Linked DNA regions of Homo sapiens: regions 1 and 3 are each linked to region 2. The links are contacts of gene promoters, found by promoter capture Hi-C in human tissues and cell types (Jung and others, 2019). All regions are on one chromosome and are shown on one strand. Each heading gives the region's core, a stretch centred on a gene start or on the middle of the fragment in contact. The rest is flanking DNA. Distances are from core to core; before and after follow the strand shown.

Region 1 (4,668 bases), core at 1,275-3,774, 1.2 Mb after region 2:
AACATGATGAAACCCTGTCTCTACTGAAAATACAAAAATTAGCCAGGCGTGGTGGTGCGTGCCTGTAGCCCCAGCTACTCGGGAGGCTGAGGCAAAAGAATTGCTTGAACTTGGAAGACAGAAGTTGTGGTGAGCCAAGATCGTGCTATTGCACTCCAGCCTGGGTGACAGAGCAAGGCTCTGTCTCAAAAAAAAAAAAAAAAAAAAAAGAAAAAGAAAAAAAGAAAAGAAATAAAGCAAATGGGCTGAGAGGTAGAGTCTGAAGGTTAGGATAAATACCACTAATAATCCCAACGGCATTAGTTAAAACTAAAACCCCTCTCAATTCTTAAGTACAGTTCCTACAGGATAAATTACAGAGTAAGTAAAAACAGGAAAAAATTACAGAGTTAGTACAAACAGGAAAAAAGTGCACAGTAATATTAACATTACAGCAATGCAGGATGCATACATATTACTAGTAGTATAGATGAGGCAGAGGTTGAACTTAGAGAATACGCATAAAACTGTCAACGTCAGGCCGCATGGGAATGCAAGTGCTTGGTGCTATTTCCTCTTTCCTTAGCAGGCATAGTGTAACTGTGATTTAATCTACCTGGATTACAGTTCTTTTGCTAGACACAGTCACTCACTGAGTCACTCTCCTGAAATTGCATATGAATATATGTATATCTGAGCATTTTTCTAAGGCAGGTTTCCAAAGGAGTCCATGATCGAAGAGACTAAAAATCATGGCTGGGCAAGGTGGCTCATGCCTGTAATCCTAGCACTTTGGGAGGCTGATGGGGGGAGGATCATGAGGTCAAGAGATCGAGACCATCCTGGCCAACATGGTGAAACCCCGTCTCTACTAAAAATACAAAAATTAGCTGGACGTGGTGGTGTGCACCTGTAGTCCCAGGTACTTGGGAGGCTGAGGCAGGAGAATTGCTTGAACCCAGGTGACGGAGGTTGCAGTGAGCTGAGATTGTGCCACTCCACTCCAGCCTGGTGACAGAGCGAGACTCCATCTCAAAAAAAAAAAAATCACTGCCATAGATATCGGAGGTATGTGGTTAGCAGATAGTATTTATGGGAAATGTCTCCAGAATAATGACTAAAATGGCTATATCAGAGAAGTGTTTAGTGCAGAATGCAAATTACAGAAAGGAGAATGACTCTCTAGATCAGAATAGTAGGTGAATACAGCGGACAAGAAATGAGAAAGGCAAACCTAAAACAAATGGTAAAATATTTCAAAACATAAAAATTAGTTTATATTTGCTCAAAATTTGGATGGAAGAACATTAAAGAACAGCTGACAGAAGAGACGAAGAATATCATGCACAGCATTAGGATGTGTAGAATTCAAGGGCCAGGCACAGTGGCTCACACCTGTAATCCCAACACTTTGGGAAGCCAGGGTGGGCAGATTGCTTGAGTTTAGGAGTTCGAGATCAGCCTAGGCAACATAGTAAAACTTCATCTCTACAAAATATACAAAAAAATTAGCTGGCCATGGTGGCACATGCCTGTAGTCCCAGCTACTTGGGAGGCTGAGGATGGCTTGATCCCGGGGAAGCAGAGGTTGCAGTGAGCTGAGATTGTGCCACTGCACTTCAGCCTGGATGACAGAGCCAGACCCTTTCTTAATAACCAAAAAAAAAAAAAAACAAAAAACACACACAAAAAACAAAAAAAATTTCACAGGGTTTTCTTGTGAATGGAATTCTGTACGCATTCTTGTACTTTGAACAAAGGAACTGTAATTAAAACTGATTTGTGTTTATGCCACACCTGGTCCATAAATTCAACAGTAAATTTACATGTCTTTCAAAGGATGGGAAAAGAAGCTCCTAATTCTATTGAATTCTATCTAATTCCTATGTTTTTCTTTGTTATTCCTTTTTAAAAAAAATTTAAATGTTGACATCTGAATTAGGGGCCATCCTTAATAACCAAGATGCTTTGTGTGTCACATAAATGTTAAGTATCCCTTATCCCAAGTGTGTGGGACCAAAAGTGTTTCATATTTCAGATTTTTTCAGATTTTGGAATATCTGCATATACATAAAAAGAAATCTTTGGGAAGGGACTCAAGTCTAAACATGAAATTCATTTATGTTTCACATACACCTTATACCACACCCTGAAGGTAAATATTTTAAATAATTTTGTGCGTGAAACAAAATTTGTGTACAATGAATAATCAGAAAGCAAAGGTGTCATTATCTCATGCCAGTGCTTAAAAAGGTTCAGATTTTGGAGCATTTTGTACTTGGGAGTATTTTGGATTTTTGGATTAGAGATGTTCAACCTGTATTAAAAATGACTATTTTATACTTACCACTCCCCCTACACACCGATCTCTATTTCTTTTCATTATGTCTGTGAATTAAAAACAAAGAACTTTTAGCAAATAGCTTGATTTCTACAAAATTCTTAAGTTCTGAATGAGACTTTGGTTTTAACTCACCCAAAAATTCAGCATGTGAGTTTCGACAATGAAGAAACATTGGTAATTTTGTTTGTTCTGACAGTTCAAACTGTTTTTCAAAATATCTGCATAATGCAAAAAAAAAAAATTCTCATTACAAATTGTATTTTAGCATGAGGAAGGTAATGATGTCAAAAGAGCTTTTAAATTAAAGGTATTTAATTCTCTAGAAATTACAGGACAAAAATCATGAATATTTAAAGCACATCAGGCTTATCAAAGGGCTTTTATAACTTACAACTTCTGGAAAGAAATACTTCATTTTCTGGGCTTACAAAATTATCTGGGCCCTTTAATTTTCAGAAAGTAACACCACTGGCCCCTTGCCACTGGGAGCACCATCAGTGGGAGTCAACTCACCAAGCGAGAAGCCCAGGAGAGCTTCATACTGCATGCTAATCTATTCCATTTTGCAACCAGTTTTTTATGTGCTGTTATAAAAGAAGTTATTGCCACTGGGCAAAATGAACAAGGTTTCCCTCAAAAATGAAATCTAAGTATTTGCTAAACAGCAAATAACTCAATTATGCTATTAAAAAAAGAAAATTACATGATAAAGTGGTAGCCCTGAATATCTTAAAGAGTACTTGATAAGAAGGTTTTTCCAAGTACCAGATACCATTGTCTCATTTGATCCTCAAAATAACCTGAGTATAAAAGCTGGTGTCAGAGAGGTGTAGTACTTTGTCCAAGATAACAATACCTGGCATGGCCAACTTGGAACAGAACTTCACTGCTCTAATTCCAAGTCCCAGCCTAAACGACAAAAACCTGTTACGTTTTCAAGAAGCTTCCTTCTGGTCCCGGAGTATAATGACAATATTCAGAGGATACAACGAATGTTCATTCTGTTTGTCTTTTCACTTCAACACAGTGCTCCCCCTTGTTCTCACAAATGGTAGGTTCAACTGAATCAGGATAACAGGTGGCTTATTATTTTCTTAAATGTGCTTACCTCTTCTAAGCACTTTAATTTGGGGAAACAATTTCTCTGTTTAACTTAAGCCTCTCTTGCTATATTTTTCTATATCATATTTCCTGATGTGCAGGACTATTTTACCCCCTTTGCTCTCTTGAAAATGCTAAATTTTAAAATTAGAAATAGAAATGTACTTCTTAAGAAGCAGTCTTCAGGCCGGGCGTGGTGGCTCACACCTGTAATGCCAGCACTTTGGGAGGCCAAGGCGGGTGGATCACTCAAGGGCAGGAGTTCAAGACCAGCCTGGCCAGCATGGTGAAACCTCGTCTCTACTAAATATACAAAAATTAGCCGGCATGTTGGCACATGCCTGTAATCCCAGCTATTCGGCAGGCATGAGAATCTCTTGAACCCAGGGTCAGAGGTTGCAGTGAGCTGAGATTGTACCACTGCACTCCAGCCTGGGTGAGAGAGCAACATTCTGTCTCAAAAAAAAAAAAAAAAATTAAAAATTAAAAAAATAGAAATAGTCTTCCTAAAATAGGTCGTCTATGTCTGTATTACCAAATGTTTGGGTTTTAAAATCTCCTTTTCAGATTCTGCTGGGTTAGAATAAGCAAAAATATTTTCCTTTCATTAACAAAGTGCTGAAATTTTGCAGTGTAGGAAATATTAACGACAACTTGGACAAAAAGAGATTTTGATAATATAACCAGTCACTATTTCCATAACCTCTAAAGTAAACCAAATGTCAGCAGTTAAGTGTGCACTAGTCATTATGTCAACTTTACTAATATATTTGGCTCTGACTACACACAGCAGGCGGTACTCTTCATTGTGTGCACTGCTCCACGCTGTACTGGTTATTTTTTCCACACACAATTCCATGGACCAAACCACATGACCAAGCTACAAATTCACAGTATCTAATGGTCGGATGGAAAATTAGCTTCCTATAGGAATGTAGGCAAAAGTACAGTTTATGAAAATAACAGAGGCCAGCTGGGTGTGTGGTTCAGGCCTGTAATCCCAGCACTTTGGGAGGCTGAGGTGGGTGGATTGCTTGAGCTCAGGAGTTCGAGACCAACCTGGGCAACATGGTGAAACCCCATCTCTACAAAAAATACAAGAATTAGCCAGGTGTGGTAGCATATGCCTACAGTCTCAGTTCTTGGGAGGCTGAGGTGGGAGGATTGCTTGAGCCTGGCGAGGTCAAGGCTGCGGTGAGCCATGATCACACCACTGCACTCCAGCTTGGATGACAGAGTGAGAC
Region 2 (4,674 bases), core at 885-3,384:
TCGAAAATACAAGAATGGTTCAAGAAATCTCTATGAATCATCACTATCATCAGTTACCCAAGTATTACCCTTTCTCATTTTAATCCTGATTGTCAAATAAGGCGTCTGAAGAGGTACTTCAACAAAAAAGATTCATTGATAACTGAAATGCTATCATTTTATATCGAAAAGGTCCACGATTATACATTTTACTTTGTATAAAATTAGTCTGCTTAGCCTTAACATGCTTTGGGAAAGGAGAGAAAAGCTAAAAGGAAAAAAATATTCATGAAAGCCCTTTTTCTTTTATGTCCTGTTACCGCATTATTGTCATTGGCAGCACTCACATTTCTTTTGCTTAAAATCAGGAGTCAGAATTGCTACTTTAGAAATTAAAATAATCGATGGGTATACTAGGGCCAATTTCCCTGTTAAAACCAACTCCTGCTCACCTTCGCTCCCGACATAAAAACAAATGACTTTTTCAGAATAATTTTTCAGAAACGAAGATAATTAATGTAGCACCATATAACACAAATTAAAGCTTTCAGACAAAGACTGAGAAACAATGACCAACACCAGCAAATCTAAAGTGCTCTTATATATGTATACACACAACACACACACACACCCCAAACCAAATATTCACTGTTCCTGGGGGGAGACTGCTTCTTCCTCCCTAACCGTGAACCGCTGTATATTTTCCAATTTTGTGATTTTCCTTTTTCTGCTATCACATTAACCTCCAAGAGAACTGCTTAAGTTACATGGAATCCCAACCTAATCACATCACGACTTCTCTCTCAGCCTTTACATTTTTCTCTCAAATATTAGCTCTTCGCATTTTTTTTTTTTTCTAATAGCTGGGCTGAGTTGACAGAAAAGGGCTGTGGAATTCCTGCTCTGTCCGATATCTTCCCTGTATTCCTCTTTTCTCATCCCTAGTCTCTGTTCTAATTCCCCCGCCTGCTGTCTCTCATTGACGCCTTCCCAGCTGCTGGATCCTTCACTAACCTAAGCTAAGGATATCAAATGGAATCTTTTCCTTCTCAGGGGCTATGCTCTTTCCTTACAGTTACCCACGGAGGAGAGAGGACAGGAAAGGTACTAAAACAAAGAATTGCCAAGTCCCTTTACCTCCAACTTTGGTGTAAATATATAAGGAAAGGGGATCTGCCAGGGCTCTTCTTTCCTGCCCTTAGACCTTGTTCCTCTCACACCTCTCCTTCCCAGCCTTTTATACCCCTTGAGGTATTAGTAGATTGTTCACTGTGGGCCCTAAGGCTTGGAGGATTCCCATGGGTCAGCCCCCACACCCCCACGCCCCTACCATCCTCTTTAATTAACTTCTCCCTAAATCCCAGGGCTTCGTCACAATCGTAATATGGTTCTTAAGGACTCAACTCCCAGTCTTTCCCAAAGTTGGGACATGGCCTGGCCCCGAAACGGGTGCGCATAGCCTTCCTTGAACTGGAGGTAAAGACTTCTCCTGAAGGGTTTGCTGGGGCTCCAACCTCAGTCAGTGCGCTCAGCTCCAGCAAGAGAATCTCTCCTTACTCTCAGGGAGACTGGGTCCCCCACGAGGCAGCCACACGCCCCCGGAGGACAGCGCTCCTGACCTCCTCTAGGACTCCCAACATTACTGGGGTGCTCCCTCCGGCGGCGCCCTCCGCTGGGAATACGCAGTCTTCACTCCTCTCAACAATCCTAAGTTGCTGGGTCCTCACCAAGGCAGGGGGCTGAGATGTTCCCTCCAGAGAGCCCCCCGCCCCCAAGCTCTTTCGGTGGCGGAGACACCCAAAAAGAGCGAGGGAGGCTGTGGGTCTGTCTGTCCCTCTGCGGCGACTACCCAGCCGCGAGGCAGGCCCCGTCCCTCCCCCTCGGACGCCCCACGCCGGGTCCACCCCGCCACCCGCCGCCGCGAGCGGGCTCAGCCCCAGGGGTCTCTGCTGTGAGGCTGCCCTCCTCCCGCCAGGCCCCGCGCTACTCGCCTTTCCCGTGCCGGCCGCGGACTCTGCGCTCCAGTTCCCACCCGCAGCCCAGAGTCTCCGGGCCCGCTGGTCGCGGAGCCGGCTCGCGCCACTACCTGCAGGGGCCGCCGCGCCTCTCAGCGCCACGCCGCCGCCATCTTGCATTTCAAACCGGCTGCACTTTTCAGGGAGTCAACTCTGACCTGTGAACCCTAAACCCGGAACCGCTCGGCGGGCCCGCAAAGGGGCCTCAGCAGCTCGGTGGCCCCGCGGAGTGTGGGGACTCAGGGTGGGGGTGCGAGGAGAGGCGCGCGCCCCAGCGGCCGTCCGGGGGCGGAGGGGGAAGGGAGAGAGCCGGCCAAGGCGGGGCCCTCCCGCGCGCGCGTCCTCCGCGCGCCCCCACCCCGTGCGGCGCCGAGCTCTCCACGCCCAGACCCTGCTACTCCACTGGGGTCCGACCCCGGCCCCTAGTCCGGGGATTGGCGCACCGCGGGAGGTAGGGAGGCGCCCCGCCCCCCTGTCAACAGAAGCCCCGCCCCAGACTGCGGAAGCTCCGCCCCCTGTCAGGAGACGCCCCGCCTTCCCAGGGCTCGAAATGGCCCCGCCCTTTGCCTGCGACCGCTCCGCCCGCTGTGGACTGAAGCCTGGTCTTCTCTCGGGTCAGCACAGAAGGCAGCCCCGCCTTCCTTGCGCTCCGCCTTCCTAATGTCACTGCTGGATCGTGAGAGGTAAGCATGCTGGCTTCTACTGAAACGCCCCTTGTCATCACACGCCCATCCCCTGGGGCGACACGACCCAGGCCCCGCCCCTCGGGGGGCTGCTGCGAGTCCGGCCGGGAGCCCAGCGCCCTGACAGAAGTCGCCGCGCCCCTTGTCAGCGGCAGCTCCACCTCTCCTCGCTTCGGACCCCGCTCCTCCGCGGGCCGCAGCTCCACCCGCTGACACCGAAAGTTCAGTTCAGCTGCACTCAGAACCGCCGGGCAAGGCGGAGCCGCCCTCTGCCCCTCAGCCGCCCTCCTCCCTGCGAACCGCCACTCGCTCTTCCAGAGGCTTCTGTCCGAGTCGAGGGCTTCACATCCCGTCGGCTTTCAGGGAACCAGCCCCGCAGCGGGGCCAGCGAGGGCCAGGGGTTTCGGGAACACTGCCCGGCGTCTCCGCCCCTCCCTACTCACTTTCCCTTTCCCCCGCACCGCGGTCAGAACGTGGAGGAACAGAACCAAAGCGGAGAGCGGCGACTCACCCTCCAGCTGCTCCACACGCCGGGCCTTGGACGCTCGAGCGCTCCTGGGCCCCTTGACGTTCACTCCCCACCCCCATCCCAGTCGCGGACCCTTTGTGCAGAGCTCCGCTGAGCCACAGTAATCCTAAAAGCACAGCAGAGCTCCGCTGAGCCACATTAATCCTAAAAGATGCAATTGCTTCAAGTGGAAGTCTGATTTTTTTTTTTTTTTTGAGACGGAGTCTCGCGTTGTCGCTTAGGCTGAAGTGAAATGGCGCGATCTCTGCTCACTGCAACCTCTGCCTCCCGGGTTCAAGCGATTCTCCTGCCTCAGCCTCCCGAGTAGTTGGGATTACAGGGGCCCGTCACCTAACGCCGGGGTAATTTTTGTATTTTTGGTAGAGACAGGGTTTCGCCATGTTGGCCAGGCTGGTCTTGAACCCCTGAACTCAAGTGATCCGCCAGCCTCGGCCTCCCAAAGTATTGGGATTACAGGAGTGAGCCACCGCGCCTGGCCGTGGAATCTGATCGTTGAAATCAGTGTTCTACAATATTCTTTTTATTTGTAGGTTTCATCCTGGAATCCTAAAACTTGTGTAGGATAAGGCTTAATTTTATAAGCAAAGGTATTCAACCCTGCCACATTCAATGCCCTGTATTTACAACAAAAAATATAACACTGCTTTACTCTTCTGGAGTTAAATTCCTAATGCAAACTATCTCTACAAATAATTTCAAGAAACCAATGTAATGTTCTAATAAAGGTGAAAAAGGAGAAAGTAGTTCATAATAAAATACTGTATGTACTAATATCAAGAAAAATTTTAAAATAACAGAGTTTTCACAATGTAAATACTCTGCCACCAATAGAATGCAAAACAAAAACTGTCCCGGCAAAATTTCAGTATGCCCCTGAGGGGCAGTACTGCCCTCGCTGGGAACCTCTTTAGACCGAGGAAGAGGTCTGGAAATGCTTCAAATAGAGAAATTCATTCTTTTGTCTACACAGTTAATGACAAGTTTTCTTTTGTTGTTGTTGTTGTTGTTGTTTTTGAGACGGAGTCTCGCTCTGTTGCCCAGGCTGGAGTGAAATGGTGCGATTTCGGCTCACTGCAACCTCTGCCTCCTGGGTTCAAGTCATTCTTCTGCCTCAGCCTCTTGAGTAGGTGGGATTACAGGCGCGTGCCACCACACCCGGCTAATTTTTGTATTTTTAGTACAAACGGGGTTTCACCATGTTGGTCAGGCTGGTTGCGAACTCCTAACCTCGTGATCCGCCCTCCTTGGCCTCCCAAAGTTCTGGCATTACAGGTGTGAGCCACCACACCCGGCCGATGACTAGGTTTTGTGTGTGCCAGTATATGCCAGGCACTGTGGGAGATGTACAGCTGAGTTAGTCAACTTTCCTGTCTTCCAGGAACTTACAATCAAGTAGCCAAGCAAAAAACAGGAGCATAAAGATGTGTCAAGTGAAAGATGAGAAGAGACCCCTTTAGGGATGTGGAGC
Region 3 (4,490 bases), core at 905-3,404, 1.2 Mb after region 2:
ATGGAATATTTTATTTTTCCAATCTTAGATTAAGGAAGAAATCCTTAAAAATATATAAAAGCAAATACATAATGAAGATTGATAAACCGAATGATATTGAGGTTAAAAACCTATGTTAATCAAAAGATCGCACCACTGCACTCCAGCCTGGGCAACAGAGCGAGACTCCATCACTAAAAAAAAAAAAAAAAAAAAAAGGAAGTCAAATCTTGGGTAAGGGGGAACTACTGTACTTACATTTACCCATTTATTATAAAGGCAATTACAAAGGACACAGATGAATTAACCCGATGGAAGGAGATGTACAAGGTGAGACAAAGAAGGAGAGAAGAGGAGAAGGGGCGTGGAGCTTCAGTGTTCAGCTATCTGAGAGCTCACAGAACTCAGTCCTTTTGGGCTTCTATGGAAGTTCATTAAATAGGCAAGATTGATTAGATCACTAGTCATTGGTTTATGGACTCAAGTTTCAGCTTCTTTCTTCCCAGAAGTGGCGGCTGGGGGTAGGAATCAAAGTTATAACCCTTAATCACTGGGCTGATTCCCCTGGCTACCTAGCCCCCATCCTGAAGCTATCTAGGGGCCCCCAGGCACCAGTCATCTGATTATTGTACAAAACAGTCATCACTCCAGAGATTCCAAGGATTTTAGAAGCTATGTCAGAAAATGGGACAAAGACCAAATATTAATATTTTTTTTATGATATCACAGATGGGAAAGACAAACTAGAAAAACTTGCTTTAACTCTTCATTTAACACCTCTCTGTAGGGTTTGGCTTTTTAAAATCCATGTTCATATATTTTTGATAAAAGCATACTTATTATAAGTTTAGTTTAAAAGCAAAAGTTTAATTTTGTGTTAATACTTAGAATACCAGGTTTTTTTTCAACCTAAAATGAGAATCCAATAGAAATGTTTTCTTTATAATTTATCAAGTATACCAACAGATTAACAACATTTCAAGACACTTTGTTGTAAACTTCATTGCGGAAGGCTCCCTTGGGAGTAAGGTAGTAGTAACATTTATTTCTGTGCTTTTCCATATTTATTCTGTCAGGTATTGAAATGTTTTTCCACAGGTTGCTTTTTGTTTTAGAGGTATTTCGGGTACTTGGAGAATTGTAAATATTATGTTTTGTACCCTGATTTTTAGTCATAAGTTTCCAAAAGAGGGTAAGGGTATGAATAGACTTTACACATAAAAGAGTGAAACACTTTGTTATGTAACATGTATAGTAAGTTTTTATTTTTTCTTTTGTTTTTATTTGCCTGTTTTTGGTAATCCAAATTGAAAAGGCCTGAACTCTTTCATGAGTTGAGTTCATATATAGTTTCAAAGTTCCTGAATTGATTTGGATACCTGCCTCTTTTTGGCTACCTTGAAAACTCTAGTGAACTCTCTTAATCACTGGAGAATTGGACTGAGATCTCTGAGTTGTGATTTCAGTAAATTCTGTTCTCAAAATTTTTTATAAAGCAGCATTTATATACAGTCTTGATTACTTGTGCAAGTCACTTCCAAATCCTAATGAGAAACTGTCTCTGGACTTTTATATTTTCTTAGACCTACAGTTTAAATACCAAGAAAGGCTTTCATGTCTAATGTAAAAATGCAGTGAAACTTTGATATTATTCTGCAAAGGCCATGAGAAAGATGATTACTTTGGAGACTTGTTACTTAGGATATTGGTTTTTAAAATGAGAGCAGATTCTTCCCAAATTCCATAGGTAGGAACGTGACTATAAAAGGAAAATCTATGAACCCCATATACCTACAAACTTTGGGTAGGAATTAAAACAAACATATACTATTCTTGAAATGTTAACTCACTATTACATCTTGGGGGGTGTGATTTTAATCAGGATAGAGTATTGTCAGATTGTTACTTGCTGGGATACATCCAAATTTTGAGGTTGTAGTCTTACTACATTATTTGTCTATCTGATGCCTTCCCCTTTTTTTCTTTGATACATTTGCATAAAGCAAAATGGCACTTTTTCACTAGAAATGTTTCTAAAACCCAAATAATTTCTTCATTTGTGTGTAGTAAAAACAAGCTTCAGGAAAAAAGTTATTAGAATTTTAAAAATTAGTTATAAAATTATGGCAAAGCTCATGAATAGTTACTGAAGATTAATTTACTACTTTGTGAATAGCAAGTTGACAAAAATAATTTACAGTTCCTGCTTGACTTTCTCCCCTCTAAGTGGCATAAAGTAGAACTAGAGTTATTTTGTTTTGGTTTTGACCCAACTTAGAAGATTTGTTTTAAAGTTTCTGAAGTTTTGTCTCAGGAAAATAAGGTGGTTTTCCATGTAGAGAATGTAAGATTACATATGGCATCTGGTAGGCTGAATTAATTCCATTTTCTTGTTACCTTCCATGGAAGAAGTTTCTAATAAAAAAATCTTTTCAGGGCCGAGCGCAGTGGCTCACGCCTATAATCGCAGTAGTTTGGGAGGCCGAAGCGGGTGGATCACCTGAGGTCAGGAGTTTGAGACCAGCCTGACCAACGTGGAAAAACCCTGTCTCTACTGAAAATGCAAAATTAGCTGGGAGTGGTGGTACATACCTGTAATCCCAGCTTCTTGGGAGGCTGAAGCAGAAGAATCGCTTGAACCTGGGAGGCAGAGGTTGCAGTGAGCCAAGATCACGCCATTGCACTCCAGCCTGGGCAACAGGAGCGAAACTCCATTAAAAAAAATATAAAAAAAAATATATATATATATAATATATATATATTATTTAAATATATATATATTTAAAAATATATATATTAAAAATATATATATATATTTAAATATATATATATTTAAAAATATATCTATTAAAAATATATATATATTATTTAAATATATATATATTTAAAAATATATATATTAAAAATATATATATTTAAAAGAGCCTGTTCTGAGCTCACAACTCTTTGGGGGATTATTAGTGGCCCATTTTCTTGGGGAATCAGGTGGTTTGTATTTAGAGGTTTATATGTCTTCTACTTTATTGTGTCCTTTTGTTTTCCTTTTCACAGATGACTTGACATTTTGGCACAGAATACATTTTAAATCCCTGGACAGAGTCATCACTTAAATGAACTAGCCCTTGCTTATATGTGCAGTGGATTGTGAAATGCGTCTACTGTAATAATATGCAATGTCTTGATTACCTGCTGAAATAAGGTGGATAGATGGATTTTTATTTTATTTAATATTTATTTATTTATGTATTTTGAGACAGGGTCTCACTGTCACCCAGGCTGGCATGCAGTGGTGCGATCTCAGCTAACTGCAATGCCTCCCGGGTTCAAGCGATTCTCCCACCTCAACCCCCTGAGTAGCTGGGAGTACAGGCACGTGCTACCACCCTGGCATATTTTTATATTTTTGGTAGAGACAGGGTTTCACCATGTTGACATGGTCTTGAACTCCTGGCCTCAAGTGATCCACCCGCCTCAGCCTCCCAAAGTGCTGGGATTACCATTGTGAGCCACCACACCCAGCCAAGATGGATTTTTAATTTGGAGTTTGTCACTTTTTCTGTACTCCAGGGTATGGTTTCTCATTGTCTGAAACATAGATTTTATTTTTCAAGCAGGCTATATTTTGTGGTTGCCTTTAAAAACATCCAGATGTGACAGACATTTCCTAATGAATACTAATTGTACTTATTTTGTACAAAATATTGTAGAATCCATAGATGGACAGGGTAGGATCTTTGCTTTCTGTTATAGATACATGTGTAATAGGGTAGATTATACTTAGATAACTGCAGACTACAATATCAGGTGATATATGAGTGTTAAATGTTTCACTAAGTTCTGCAGGTATGCTGAAAGAACAGTTTCTATCAAAGAAAGTAGGTTTCTAGGATAGGTAGGATTTGAATAGTCAGGGATTGGGAGGTTGGGGACATCATTCCAAGCAAAAAGAATGTAAACACTGCTGTAGCTATAGTGGAGAAAGGAATGTGTTTGGGGAATCCAAGTCTGGAGCACTGATGTGTGTGTGTTAGGAGGAATATTACTGTAAAGCAAATTGGGTTCTTGAATGCCAGGAGCAAGAATGTAGATTTTAGTTGATAGTAATTTCAGAGCCGCTGAAGTATTTTGAGCAGGGAATGAAGAAAGGCAATTTGGTGATGGCTTGTAAATGGATTTGGACAAGATGAGGGTTTTTTGAGACAGACTGATTGATTGGTGTCACAGAAAAGGGAGATAGAGGTGTTAGAAGAATTTGGCAACTAATTGGCAAAGTTTGAGCATGTGGGGCTGGGTTGGGAGTATCTCTAAAAGAACAATAATGGTACCTTCAACTGAAATAGCAAATCACAAGGAAAAGCTGATTCTAGTTTAAGGCAAGTCGAGTTTCAGAACTTTGGAGATTTGCAGTTGTAGGAGTGAAAGTAGGTGAGTATTCAGATGTCATTCCCATTGTTGAAACCTTGGATAATAATGTGTTTATTGTAATCCTACTTAAAATATGCATTTCTGTC

Evidence for each region. Contacts are between HindIII fragments. The study calls those that stand out against the background at their distance.
Region 1: a fragment that was not itself captured here is called in contact with the fragment with the promoter of ZHX1 in region 2 in 1 of the 25 tissues and cell types used here (dorsolateral prefrontal cortex).
Region 3: a fragment that was not itself captured here is called in contact with the fragment with the promoter of ZHX1 in region 2 in 1 of the 25 tissues and cell types used here (dorsolateral prefrontal cortex).

The regions. Positions count from the first base shown.
Region 1 is chr8:124,506,148-124,510,815 of GRCh38, forward strand. TATDN1 (TatD DNase domain containing 1) reads right to left here. Exons shown (of 12, transcript NM_032026.4): 7 at 2,456-2,541; 8 at 2,327-2,367. MIR6844 (microRNA 6844) reads right to left here and starts at 2,429; the gene lies at 2,368-2,429. The HindIII fragment of the contact is 3,251 bases long and covers 900-4,150 here.
Region 2 is chr8:123,272,152-123,276,825 of GRCh38, forward strand. It overlaps ZHX1 (zinc fingers and homeoboxes 1), which reads right to left and starts at 2,135. Exons shown (of 4, transcript NM_007222.5): 1 at 2,066-2,135. It overlaps ZHX1-C8orf76 (ZHX1-C8orf76 readthrough), which reads right to left and starts at 2,135. Exons shown (of 6, transcript NM_001204180.2): 1 at 2,066-2,135. RefSeq lists silencers at 1,392-1,759, 1,796-1,995, 2,196-2,885 and an enhancer at 3,366-3,485. The HindIII fragment of the contact is 11,288 bases long and covers 123-4,674 here.
Region 3 is chr8:124,480,230-124,484,719 of GRCh38, forward strand. All of the region lies in intron 1 of RNF139 (ring finger protein 139), which reads left to right. Among named protein-coding and RNA genes, the nearest start is that of RNF139, 7.6 kb to the left of the region's middle. The HindIII fragment of the contact is 4,535 bases long and covers 1-4,422 here.